Regions from separate parts of the Homo sapiens genome. Here region 1 is linked to region 2. The links are contacts of gene promoters, found by promoter capture Hi-C in blood cells and fetal thymus (Javierre and others, 2016). All regions are on one chromosome and are shown on one strand. Each heading gives the region's core, a stretch centred on a gene start or on the middle of the fragment in contact. The rest is flanking DNA. Distances are from core to core; before and after follow the strand shown.

Region 1 (6,197 bases), core at 1,900-4,399, 34 kb before region 2:
AAATAATAAATAACATATATCCTCCTCAACCCCTCAGTCTCTCTGATTCCTAAATTATCCCGCTGTAATTGCAGGGCTAGATTTGCCGACCTGCTTTATAAAGCTATGTTAAATCAGTATATTTTATTCTTTTTATTAGACTTTTCTATAGCATAAAAATGATAAAATACAGCAAGAAAAAAAGTCACCTGAAACTCTAGTCCTAACCCTAATATGAATGTGAAGGAGCTGGGCTAGAATGGAATAGGGTAGAATTTGCATAAGGTGGAAATGGGGACAGGCCTGTCACAAGGATCACTAGAGTCTTGCTGGCAAAAGCATCTTACTGCATTCATGCTGCAGCACAGGACCCAGATGCAGAACAGGTTGGGGACACAGCCCTGCCTTCTAATAGTGGACACCATCTGAGAGCTGAGCCATAGATTCAAAGCCTAACTCCTAATAGCGATTGGTAGTAATATCATCAGCAGTTCATATACATGGAGTGACAACAGCGTGCCAGGCAATTCAAAGGGTCTCTCGGTCCTCACAGCATTTTTGAAGTAGCTAACATCACTATCCCCCTTTTACAGTTAAAAACAACAACAACAACAACAAAAACACAAAACCCTGAGGCTCAGAAGATAAATATTTGCTGAAGATCACTGTGCTTGTAAGTGGTGGAGCCTGACCATTAACTTCCCCACGACACTGCTTCAATTTCTATCACTTCATCAACCACACAACCCGAGAACTGTGAGGGGATTTAGCAGGCCCAGTCCAGATCTCTTATTGTACAGAGAAGAAATCTGAGGCTCAGAGAGGGGAAGGGACTAATTTGGACCTTTAACTTCGGATTCTTAACTTTCTTTCTGGTGTTCTAACTATACTGTACTACAAGAGGCTGTCTTAGAGCTTTAGTTCAACCAGCTTCAGAGATACTCATTGTTATGGGTTGAATTATGTCTCCCCAAAATTCATATGTCAAAGTTCTAACCCCCAGTACCTCAGAATGTGACCATATTTGGAGATAGGACCTTTACAGAGGTAATCAGGTGAAAATGAGGTTGTTAGGGTGGGCCTTAGTCCAGTATGGCTGGTGTCCTCATAAAAAGGGGAAATTTGGACACAGATGTACATAGAGGGAAGATGGTGTGAAGAGACATAAAGAACAGATAGTCATCTATAGCCAAGGCCTGGAACAGATCCTTCCCTAACAGCCCTCAGAAGGAAGCAACCTCACTGACACCTTGATTTTGGACTGCTACCCTCTGGCACTGTGAGACAATAAATTCATGTTGGTTAGGCCACCCAGTTTGTTATGGCAGCCCTAGGAAACCTTTGTGGATATATCTGTTCGTATACCCATAAAGTCTGCAAGTCAAAAATATCACAGACTTTTGGCAGCCCTTCATTCAAGCACTGGCTGGGAGGGTCACCCTCCCCGAGGCAAAAGGATAGAGCAAATGATCTTTCCAGCTTGCTCCCAACCTTGATCTTTGGCCAAGATATTTTTCTTTCACTGGACATTGGCCAACATTGGTGTCATAACTTAATTTGACTGTGACCTTCTTGAGTCTTTTATGTCTCTGAGCTTGACCTGTAGAAGAAGCTCAATAAATGTGGGTAGAGGGGATGAGTGGGAAAATCAGCTCCCAGCCATTCCAGTTCAAGCCTCTTCAAGCAGAAGAGTCCCACCTGAAAGACCTCATTTTCACTTGATTACTCGATCTCCAAGCAATAGGTGGGGCAGGAAGCAGGGTATGTAAGGCCTGTCAGTGGATGGAAGTTGAAGTTGGACACCATCTCCTAAAGTTTAGAGCTGAGCCCAAATTCTGGAAAACACAAGCAAAATACATTTTATATGACTCAGGATGGGCTAAAGAAGTTCCAGTACAGGAAACTGTTTTCCTGCTGCTTTATTAATTTTGCTACAGAGGATAAATGAGATGCAGACTTTCATATCCAAGTCTTCATTAGATGCCCAGTTAATGCAGCCATGACAAATGGGAATGAAGCCCTTATGAATAAAAAAAAGATCAACCCAGTATAAAAAAATCATAGACCAGAGAAATGAAAATTTAGAGGAGCTGATAAAATACCCTATCCTTAATTAGACTGTCAGCATACACATCAAATCAGCCTTAATGCCAAGATTTATTGGCCTTGGAATTGGGTAAATGAAATAAGTGCTTACAAATGAATGGAAAAGAAATTACCTGTATTAAAACGTATTTGTGATGCAGGCCTGTGCACTGAGGGTTTTAGTCAAACTCAGGCTTGCAGCTTCTTTTGCTCTGCATCCATTTCCACCCCATGTTCCCCAGTGGGTTTCAGAGACCCTCTTTGTGGGGTAACAATATGTACCATTGTCAACTACCTCTGCTGTTGTCCTGGAAAAATCCTTCTTGGACAGTAAAATATTTTTGTCTTTATTTCACCATCTCCAGATTAGATGGGTGTTACTGATTCTTACCTCAGAGAAGAGAATGTCATGGAGACAAAATGACCTGCTTAGAGTTCTGCACCCCCCAGCATGGAGAGCAGAGCGCAAAGATTTCTTCCGGACTCCCACATTCCCCTTGGAATCCAAGAACTGGTCTACTGTCACAACACTTTAGTACCCTCTTGTAAGCCTGTGGACAAATCCTCTGATGCCTTGATACCTCGGTTTTCCCCCACTATAAATGGGAAGATAAATTCACTAGAAACAGTACTTACCTTGCAGTGTCATTATGAGAATTTCATGAGACAATGCAATATAAAGCTCCTAGCACAGTTCCAGGCACCATTGTAAGCACTGAACAAATGAAAGCTGTTGTCATTAGGATCTCAAGAAATGACAGCTGAGGCAAATGTGGATTAGACTGCATTCAGCATTCTTAGCTGCAAGCAACAGAAGCTGACGCTGGTTTAAAGAATAGGAAAGGAAGTTAATTAAAATGACATTGGGTAGCTTGTGGAACTGGGAGGACTAGAGAGCTCAGTCTAAGTTCTAGTGACAAAGCTTCAAATCATACATGAGGAAAATGCCCCTCTGCAGGAGGAACGTAATCCTGCAATCACTGCTTCCCCTGAAGCCAGATGCCTCTACTGCTGCCCTTCCCAGCAGTGATGGAGCCTGGATCACATACCTGGCTTTAGTTGTAAAGGAGGCTGGAGAGAAAATGCTCTGCTCTATGTAACTGTCTTGAAAGTGGCCCACACATAGCAAAGCCATTCAAAAGCGGGTGAGCAGCATGAAAGCATCCAGAAGGATTCTTGCTTTGCATGAGGGAGAACTCTTGCTCCCAGAGTGTGAGACCAGCAGGGGCATTTTCCTCATGTGTGATTAGAAGCTTTGTCACTAGAAGCTTAGACTGAGTAGGACACCTCTGAGTGTGAATGTCCTACCTGAGTTCTGCCTCATGCAAAGCAAGAATCCCTCTGGAGGGATTGACACCACAGCCTCTTCCACAATGTCTCCAAACAACTTTACTGGGCAGCATTCCACTCCTTGACAAACGGGAGAGGTGCATTCTACCTTCTCTCCTGCATGAGCCTAGACTAATATGGAATTTGGGAGTGTTGATCATTGTACTTTGTGCTCCTAGAGATAAGGGTCATCATAAAGCATCTCAGAGTCTCACTGTAGATCCACAGTTCCATTTCTTTATGGATCCCTTACCCCTACTTTGCCAAATTCTATGCAGATAGCAATAATAATTCAGACAGGGCTTCCTCACTGAAGGAGTTTGTGCTCTATATAGTTAATAAGCTAGAGATAATGAAAAAAAAAAAAACTCAACTTGAACTTTGGGTAAGAGAAACTTTTCAGACCAACGATCATTACCAATAACAGCTTCCACGCATGACCCTGCCCGGAGATTGGGGCCTGCACTACTGTTTCCAGGAAACACATTCTTTTGAATTTTTTTATTTTCTTTGTAGAGATGGGGATCTCACTCTGTTGCCCAGGCTGGTCTCAAACTCCTGGCTTCAAGCAATCCTCCTGCTTCGGCCTCCCAAACTTCTGGGATTACAGATATGAGCCACCACGGCTGGCTGACAGGCACCAAATTCTAGGAGAGGACTTGAATAGAGTAGGCATCTGTCTCTCCCCATTCCTTTCAGGGACAGAGCTCTCCTGGTTGGGAGAAAGGGAGAGGGAGAGGGAGGAGGATGAATAGTGAAGCACCAAACCTCAGAATTAAGGCCTTTTTCTTTTCTTTCTTTCTTTCTTTTTTTTTTTTGAGATGGAGTTTCGCTCTTGTTGCCCAGGCTGGAGTGCAATGGCACAATCTCGGCTCACCGCAACCTCTGCCTCCCAGGTTCAAGCGATTCTCCTGCCTCAGCCTCCCGAGTAGCTGGGATTACAGGCATGCGCCACCACACCCAGTTAACTTTTTTGTATTTTTAGAGACGGGGTTTCTCCATGTTGGTCAAGCTGGTCTCGAACTCCCGACCTCAGGTGCTCTGCCCGACTTAGCCTCCCAAAGTGCTAGGATTACAGGCGTGAGCCACCATGCCCAGCCAGAATCAGGGCCTTTTTAAAACTTCAGTGTCTTGTCTTTACCCTTCATGGTGCCTAGAAAAGCATCTGGCTCATAGGTGTTCAGTGAATGATTGTTTCATTAGTGAAGAAATTCCCTTTGGAAATCTCATAGGAAACTTACCCTCTCCAACCCTTCACCTGTGCATTATTCCAGCTCCCAAGGAGGCAGCAGAAACTGGGGTAATCACAACGGTCAACAGCAGCAAAGGCAGCACTTTCTGATTTACTTGACTGCTATGGATGCCACCTCTCTCCACGCCTCAGTTTAATATCTGTAAGTTTGGTCAGTATCTCATTCAAGAACATTGCATTTACTCTGGTACTTAAAGATGAAAAATCAACATTTACAAAGCAGATCCATTGTCAACCTAAATAACAAACAAAGAGAGTCTCTATAAAAGAAAAGAATATTTATTTGGGAATAGAGCATTGCATAGGAATATGCCTGCCTTAGTAATGCATGTATTCAGGGAGGTAGAGGAAGACAAAGGTTTTTAACAGAAAAAATGTGGAGAATTACATAATTGTTTTGAAATAATTATCCTTGGCTATAAAGATCAATAACAAGGGTGATGCGAGTCCAAGGTTGGACAGGCAGTTGCTGGGCAGATGTCTTTGCAGAAGTCTTTTTTGTGTAAGGTTGTAATGGCTTTTGTAGGAGGTTGTGGCTTTTGCAATCTTTTGTGATAGCTTTTGTTACCAGGCATACAAGCATGAGAATGCTCTCTTCAGGGCCTTCCCTAGCTCTATTTATCAGGGGTTTCTTGTTAGTGATTCCATTTTGATTCTGACAACTTTCATGGACATTATCTCATTTAATCTCACAGTCATTCCATGACTCTATCCCCATTTTGTGAATGAAGTAACTGAGGTCTGGAGAGGTCAACTAACTGGTCAAGGTCATAGAACTTGAAAATTTTCATTGTCTTGGGTCTCTAATACTGGGGCTGACCATTCTCCCAGGCAATGTTGAGTGAGTTGGCCCAGGTGAGTCGGCTCCTCTGCAATTGTGTCTCCTCAACTAGTTTGAACAACACAGGCCTGTGAGCCAGTCCCATAAAGTGGCTAGGGGTTCCCTTCTCCCCATTTCCCCTCATCAACAGGAGGACTTGTCTGTGTGCCTTCAGACACCACACAGTAAATCAACTGCCACATTCATTCTGGACCATCAGTATTTTGCCCCAGGAGAAAGTCAGAGGCAAGCACACTAATATCTCATTGATATTTTCAATTGCCAAAGGGGAAGTGAGATGAATCTAATCCCATCTGTCAAGGTGGAGAAGAGCTGATTCGAAAGCAGCATAGATTACTTTAAGGAGATGACAGTTTATCACTCTCTGGACAAGGGAATATGAAATGAGGACTAACCTCCTTTATGAGTTGGTAAAAACATTGATCAGCAAAGACAATGTCTGGGGAAATGAACAGCAAGTTCTCTGGCCCTTTTTCCACTTTTCCTTTCCCCGAGACTTTATGTTATATATACACACTCACACAAACAGGACAGAATCCACCTCCTGCCCCTCAAGAAATAGTTAACATTTGTTGAGGATTAATTATTGCCAGGCTCTGTACTCCATGTTTTATATTTACTATCCAGAAGCCTTAATTGTTAAATGAGGTAAGTGTTATTATTAGAACCTTTGTACAGATGTGGAAACTGAGGTGTATAGAGGTTGACTTG
Region 2 (6,619 bases), core at 3,971-6,470:
GGAACTACAGGTGCCCGCCACCACGCCCGGCTAATTTTTTTGTATTTTTAGTAGAGACGGGGTTTCACCATGTTAGCCAGGATGGTACTCTTCTCTTTCTATTTTGTTTTCTTCTTCTTTTTTCTCCTTGTTCTTCTCTTCCTCCTCCTCTTCCAATTCTTCTTAGATTTGTCCAGTTTAAATTCAGGCTTTCAGCTGGCCTGAATTTATGACCCTGCACTGTACTAAGCTGCATCTTTCCTTTGCTCCGAGTCTCCAGAGTTTACCCCCGGAGTTCTTGGCTATTGTGCTGTAGGCCCCTTTGAAGCCTATGGCTCAGAATAATGACTTCAAATGTATAAAATACAATATGTAAGATTATAAAAAATATCAAGTTTATTAAAATAAAGTTATCAAGATATTTATTAAAAACAAATTTGTGACATGGTAATACATGCACTTCTTTATTAATGGATCAAGTAACAATCTAGCAAGGAGCCTAGTAACTACAGTGATTTCAAGGTAGTGATGAGCAGGAATGATATTTGGAGCTATTTGAAGCAATAGTAATATGACATAAAAACATCTGTAATTTCTCCTGGCAACAAAATCACGGTACTGTTAAAACTTTTGTAGTTTGTGGCCTATGGTTCAAAGAAAATGTTAAAAATTCAGTTAGAAGTTAGTGAACATTAAGATGCAATTTTTCTCTCTACCAAGTTTATGGATTCTCTGAATTCTGCTCATGAGCTCCTCAGGGCTGTGACTCCAAGTTAACAACCCCCAGCCTGGATGCTTGGGTTTCCTTTATTCTATTATTCCTTTCTTCATCTCTTTTTGAAACGGATCAGAGTTAATTCTTGTTTAATCATTAGCAACAAACCAGTAATAAAGGGAGCATTTTTTTTTTCTTTGAGACAGAGTCTCACTCTGTCACCCAGGTAGAGATGTGATCTGGGCTCACTGCAACCTCCGCCTTCCAGGTTCAAGTGATTCTCCTGCCTCAGCCTCCCGAGTAGCTGGGATTACAGGCACATGCTATCAGGCCTGGCTAATTTTTGTATTCTTAGTACAGATAGGGTTTCACCATGTTGGCCAGGCTGGTCTCGAACTCCTGACCTCAGGTGATCCACTTGCCTCTGCCTCCCAAAGTGCTGAGATTACAGGCGTGAGCCACTGCACCCAGCCAAAGGGAGCATATTTGAACACATGTGCTCAAACATTAACACAAGATCCGCCCACTCAGGCAGGAGCAAGGAGACCCCTGGACATGGGCTCCCTTTCTAGCTTGCAGAACAATAACCATGATCTTAAGGTAGAGTGGAAAGGGGCTTCTCAACCTCTCCCCCATGCTTAGGTGAGACTTACTCCATGCCTGAAGGTAAACAGTCTCAGAGGACTATGCCAGGTCAGGGAATATTCCACTCCATAGTCTCACTCCATGAGAAGGTCGCCCTACATCTTGAGGGGCCCCTCAAGGTAGGCCTTGAGATTGGCTGTTGCTACACGCGCACACACACACATCTGTATAAATGGTCCATGGTGACACTGACATCAGCTAAAGCAGAGAAATAAGGGCCAGGCTGACGTTATGAGATGTGAACTGCACGTAGCCCTTCTACACAGACACTCAATGGCATGCTGCCCACCTGCCCTCATTCTCTCCGCAGGTGTGTAGGATTCTGGGAAAGGCTTGCCCGGCACATCTTCTCCACTAGCTCTCTCCTCCCTCAGCGGAACCAAGTCCACTTTTAGCACTTTCACCGTTTCCCCTCCATTTTTTACCACTTGCTTCTTGTCTCACCTCCCCTCCGGCTTCCCTCCTTTGTCTCCTCCAGTTCATGCTTGCTTAGTTCAGGGTTTTCCTCTCCTTTCCACTGTCCTTTTCCACACTGCACCTGGCAGCCAAAAAGTAACCCTAACCATGGCAAAAAAGAATCAAGTACTGTTGAAATCCACCTAGACAAGGGAACAGGAGAGCTCTAAGGTCTAGAGGGAAATTAGACCCTAGAAGTGCGAGTTCCTGGTCCTGACACATGGAAGGAACTGAATGAATGTGTAATTGAGTTATTGAATAAAGAATCAGTACTGCTTATCCCCGGAGCTCCTCAGAGTCTCTTCTGGGATTTCCACCAAGTTGCCCTCTGTCCCTTGTCCTCCTCTAATTAAAATGGCTTTTCCTCAAGCACTAGCATTCAAGAGAAATAAAATGCTTTTAATCAATGCTATTGGTTTTGTTTTGCAACAGCATTTCTTGCTACCATTCTTCACTGCAATTGTGAGATGATTAGTTTTGTGTGTTTGTGGCAGTGGGGAGGGAGGGAGTGAGAATAGGGGAGCGAATGGGACGGGTGTTAGCCTGAGAATCACCTGATCTGACATTGTCTCTTGGAAGGCAAACTTGTGAGGTGGGGTAGTGTGTGCAGGGCAAGCAGAGCCCACAGGACCACTTCTGTAAGGTGTTCCAAGCCCCCAGCAAAGTGCTGCCTCCTCCCTAGGTAGCTTTTCTCCCAGAGCAGAAGGTCCTCCAAGGCTCGGATGGTCTCTTGATTCTTCTGTCACCAGCCCGGCCCAGTGTCACAGTGTACAGGTGGGCCTTACAGACTCATTATTTTGATTCTCACCTCCCAGGAGAATTTTATATTAAGGCATACAAGTTCATATGTTTATAGAAAAAACTGGCCATTGGTAGCAAATGCTGCTGTGTGCCAGGCATTGTGGTAAGCACTTCATATGCATCACCTCACTTAACTCTCCATCTGCAGTCAGAGGGATCCTTTCAAGGTGTGAATCAGGCCAGGTGCGGTGGTGTGTGTCTACAGTCCTAGCTACTCTGGAGGCTGAGGCAGGAGCATCGCTTGAGCCCAGGAGTTCCAGGCTGCAGTGAGCTATAATCACACTTCAACCTGGCTAACAGAGCAAGACCTTGTCTCTAAAAAAAATCCAAGTGTATACCAGATCCTGCCTCTCCCCTGCTCCAAACTCTCCAAGGGTTCCCATCACACTTGGAGTCAGGTTCCTGCCATGTCCCACAAGGCAGGCTGGATTTGGTCTTTGGCTCCTGCTCCAACTGCATCCCCTCCCATCCCGTCCCCTGGCTCACCTCACTCTTTGCTTCTCCTGGAACTGGCCAAAAAGCCCTGCCACAGGGTTGTTGCACTGACTTTTCATCCAGGCTCTGTCCAGCTCACTCCTTCACTTTATCAGTCATCTGCACAAGTGCCTTCTCAGACAGACCCTTACCACATCTAAAATATCACCACTTGTCAAGGTCTGTTGCTTTCCCTGCCTTTCTCCCCACCACCTTTTTTTTATTTTTTGAGATGGAGTCTCGTTTTGTTGCCCAGGCTGGAGTGCAGTGGCGCGATCTCGGCTCACTGCAACCTCTGCCTCCCAGGTTCAAGTGATTCTCTTGCCTCAGCCTCCCGAGTAGCTGGGATTACAGGCGTGAGCCACCACAGCTGGCTAATTTTTATATTTTTACTAGAGATGGGGTTTCACCATGTTGACCAGGCTGGTCTCGAACTCCTGACCTCAAGTGATCCGCCTGCCTCTACCTTCTAAGTGCTGGGATTACAAGCATGAGCCACTGCGCCTGGCCTTCCTTTTTAACAGTGCTCAACACAACTGGCCATTTTATTACAAATCTGTTTATTTGTCTATTACCCGTCTCCTTGACTATAGTCAAAATTACATGAGGACAGGGTTTTGTTTTGTTCACTGCTATATTCCCAGTGCCAAGAACAGTGTCTTCTATACAGTAGGCTCTCAATAAATATAGTCAATGAATAAATAAATAGATGAATACTCGCAAAATCGTATGATGTAAATGCTATTCTTATCCCATGTTATAGATAGGAAAACTGAGGCTTGGAGAGATTAGCAATATTTTCAAGGTCATGAAGCCATCGATCTGAATCAAAGCATCTGCCTCTGGGGGCTTAGCTCCCAGCTCCCGTGCTAGTTAACCTTCCTCTCTGCACTCATAAATGCCTATCAGCGTTTCAATGTGGAAACCCTAGACCCCTGTGACATTTGATAAGAAAGGTTTTGTGGATGAATCTGCTTGTGAAATACTACAAACTGCATTTCCCACTTGGTGTTTCAAACACTTATTAGCATATGAAAGGCCCTGAAAAGTTCTGCAAAAAACAAGCCGGTTTGTGTTTCCCAAATTTTTGACTGTAGAAGTCTTTTATTTGTTTATTTGTGTATTAACATATTGCAACACATACCTTGGGAAATGTTGGCTTTTATTACTGTGGAGAGAAGGCAGATCATCTGACAAAGCACTGGGAGCTCTCTCTGGGTCGTATGACACAGAGAGGGCTGGGGTCAGGGGCTTCCCTCACAGGCGGAGGGGCCATCCCGAAAGTCAACTTCCCACCAGACTGGCATCTGAGACCACCGTGTTTATACACTCACGGATAAGGCCACTCTCATGCTCACCCCTAAAACTGGAAGGCCAGTGGTGTGGCTCTGGTACCTTTCAGCCACAGCCCATACCAGCTCGGCTCTGCAGGGTACTGAGAGAGTGTGTGCCCTGTATGTTTGCTGGCTTTCTGCCCTTGGGTCATTGTACCAAGGGACACTTGCTGGTGTTCATCCTGAGCCCATGAGAGAGCAAATCCTTATGTGTGTGTCACTTAGGAACATCAGCCCCACAAGTCTGGTCTTTTTTTCCTCACTGTCTTATGGCTCCTCACTATAATTTTAACCTTTTAGAGAAATAAGGATACCACCTCACCCTCTTCTGTCTTCTCAGCTACCTCTGTGTTGAGCCCATGGTAAATGCCTAGATAAGTCTTGGTGTGAGTGAGAGGGAACCAATAATCTTGTATGTTGCATAGTTTGGTGCAGGGAAGCATAAATGGTGATGTTGCAAATCCCTTAATTCATTACCAGAGGCTTTCCTCTGCCCCAAGTAGGATAGAAGGATACCCAGAGGCAGAAAAGAACATTGAGTGAAATATACATAACTGTCTGAATCACTGCGTTCTTGGGAGAGTTAGAGCAACCGTCAAAGCCCCCCAAGTATCCATTTTTATTGGTTTTGATGTTGATTTGATGTTGTTAGAGATTCAGGTCTCATCTTCGCTTCTGAGATCATCTGAGTAACATCGGTGTTGGAGAAGGGAAGAGCAGAGATGAGGCATCCACAGGCAGCCCTGGATCCTGAGTGTAAACATCTGGGAGGAGGCGGGGGATGCAGGAGAGCCTGGCCTCCCCAGCTTGCCAGGCACAAGGCTGAGCGGGAGGAAGCGAGAGGCATCTAAGCAGGCAGTGTTTTGCCTTCACCCCAAGTGACCATGAGAGGTGCCACGCGAGTCTCAATCATGCTCCTCCTAGTAACTGTGTCTGACTGTGCTGTGATCACAGGGGTAAGTCGCCTAACATTCTCTGTGCCTTGGGTTTTGGGAAGATGTCAGGGTCTGCACGGGTTGTGAGCCCAGGAACCATGCAGGAGGCTCTGTTGGCTCAACACAGTGTGAACCAAAGGGAATGGGGAATTATGCATTAAAGGGATTGCATGCGATTTTCAGACTAGTTAGACCTCACTCTACTAAATGGGATCTGCTTTTGAGAAGCTGTGTATGAATCAAATCCTGTTTTCAATGTGTTAGCAGAGCATTGAACATTTTGAAGTTCAGTCCTTTGGTAAAGTGAAGATTCCTATTAAGTAATAAGGAATTCCTTTATAAAGTGGATTGGCAAACCTTAACTTATCTTTTGTGTGAATTTTAATTTTTATTTATGGTCTGATTCACATATTAATATTAATATTAATTTACATAGCATGTTGACTTAATTAAAGGCAGTAAGCTTAATTAAAGGTGGTAAGCTTATAAACTTCTATTGTATAAACTTAACCTCCGCTTAGAAAGGATATCTTTGAAACTCTTTCACTCTGTGCCTGCCTAGTTAGTTCTGAGAGGAATATGGGTGCCACTAACATTCAGCTGAGTGTACCCCAAAGCAAGCATCCAGATAACAAGTAGATATCCAGTCTCGAAGCAGAGAAGCAAAGGTTCAGCATATGGGCACTGTACAATTGGTTCAAAATATTCAGATCATGGTTTTCTCTCGGAAGTTTGCTTTTACCTCAAACCACCTTCAAATAGGGGCACATGATGTGTTATGGTAGCAGGACCATTCTTACTGAAGCAGAAAGCAATGCTGTACCTGAGAGCTTTCCATATAAAATCCACTGGAAGAAAAAGGTCGGGGAAGCAGGGAAACTAACTTTTAGTTCAGCCTCCACCAGCTTTTTACATGGATAGTGGAAATGTAGAGAAATGCCAAACAATTCCTGGAATTGGGTTAATTTTACCATTCACAGAAAGGACAAATTCTTTCTTTTCTCTTTTAAAGGAAAAACACTGAGTTCAAAAGAACAAATATTAAAGGCGAGTCAAATGCTTTTGAGATCCAAAGCAAAAATAAAAATAATTGTGAAGGCAGAATTATACCTAATGAAGTGTTTACACTGTAGGCTGCCCTTCTATGGGGTAGCTTGAAAATCTGGGAGGGCAAGAACAATGGAGAGAAGCCCCGGCTGCTGCGCGGTGAGGGCAGGAGCAGCGTGGTTGGCCTGGATGCCAGGCTTGCCTCACCACCCGTGCCAGCTCCAGCACTGGCC

Evidence for each region. The method cuts DNA at HindIII sites, captures the fragments that hold promoters and counts their contacts. A CHiCAGO score of 5 or more calls a contact.
Region 1: a contact is called between a fragment that was not itself captured here and the fragment with the promoter of PROK1 in region 2, in 1 of 17 cell types (M2 macrophages). The highest score is 5.4, in M2 macrophages.

What each region holds. Positions count from the first base shown.
Region 1 is chr1:110,413,580-110,419,776 of GRCh38, forward strand. It overlaps LAMTOR5-AS1 (LAMTOR5 and SLC16A4 antisense RNA 1), which reads left to right. Exons shown (of 3, transcript NR_102697.1): 3 at 2,430-2,695. Among named protein-coding and RNA genes, the nearest start is that of LAMTOR5-AS1, 8.9 kb to the left of the region's middle. The HindIII fragment of the contact is 331 bases long and covers 2,985-3,315 here.
Region 2 is chr1:110,445,929-110,452,547 of GRCh38, forward strand. PROK1 (prokineticin 1) reads left to right here and starts at 5,221. Exons shown (of 3, transcript NM_032414.3): 1 at 5,221-5,360. The coding sequence starts at 5,289. The HindIII fragment of the contact is 11,265 bases long and covers 1-5,800 here.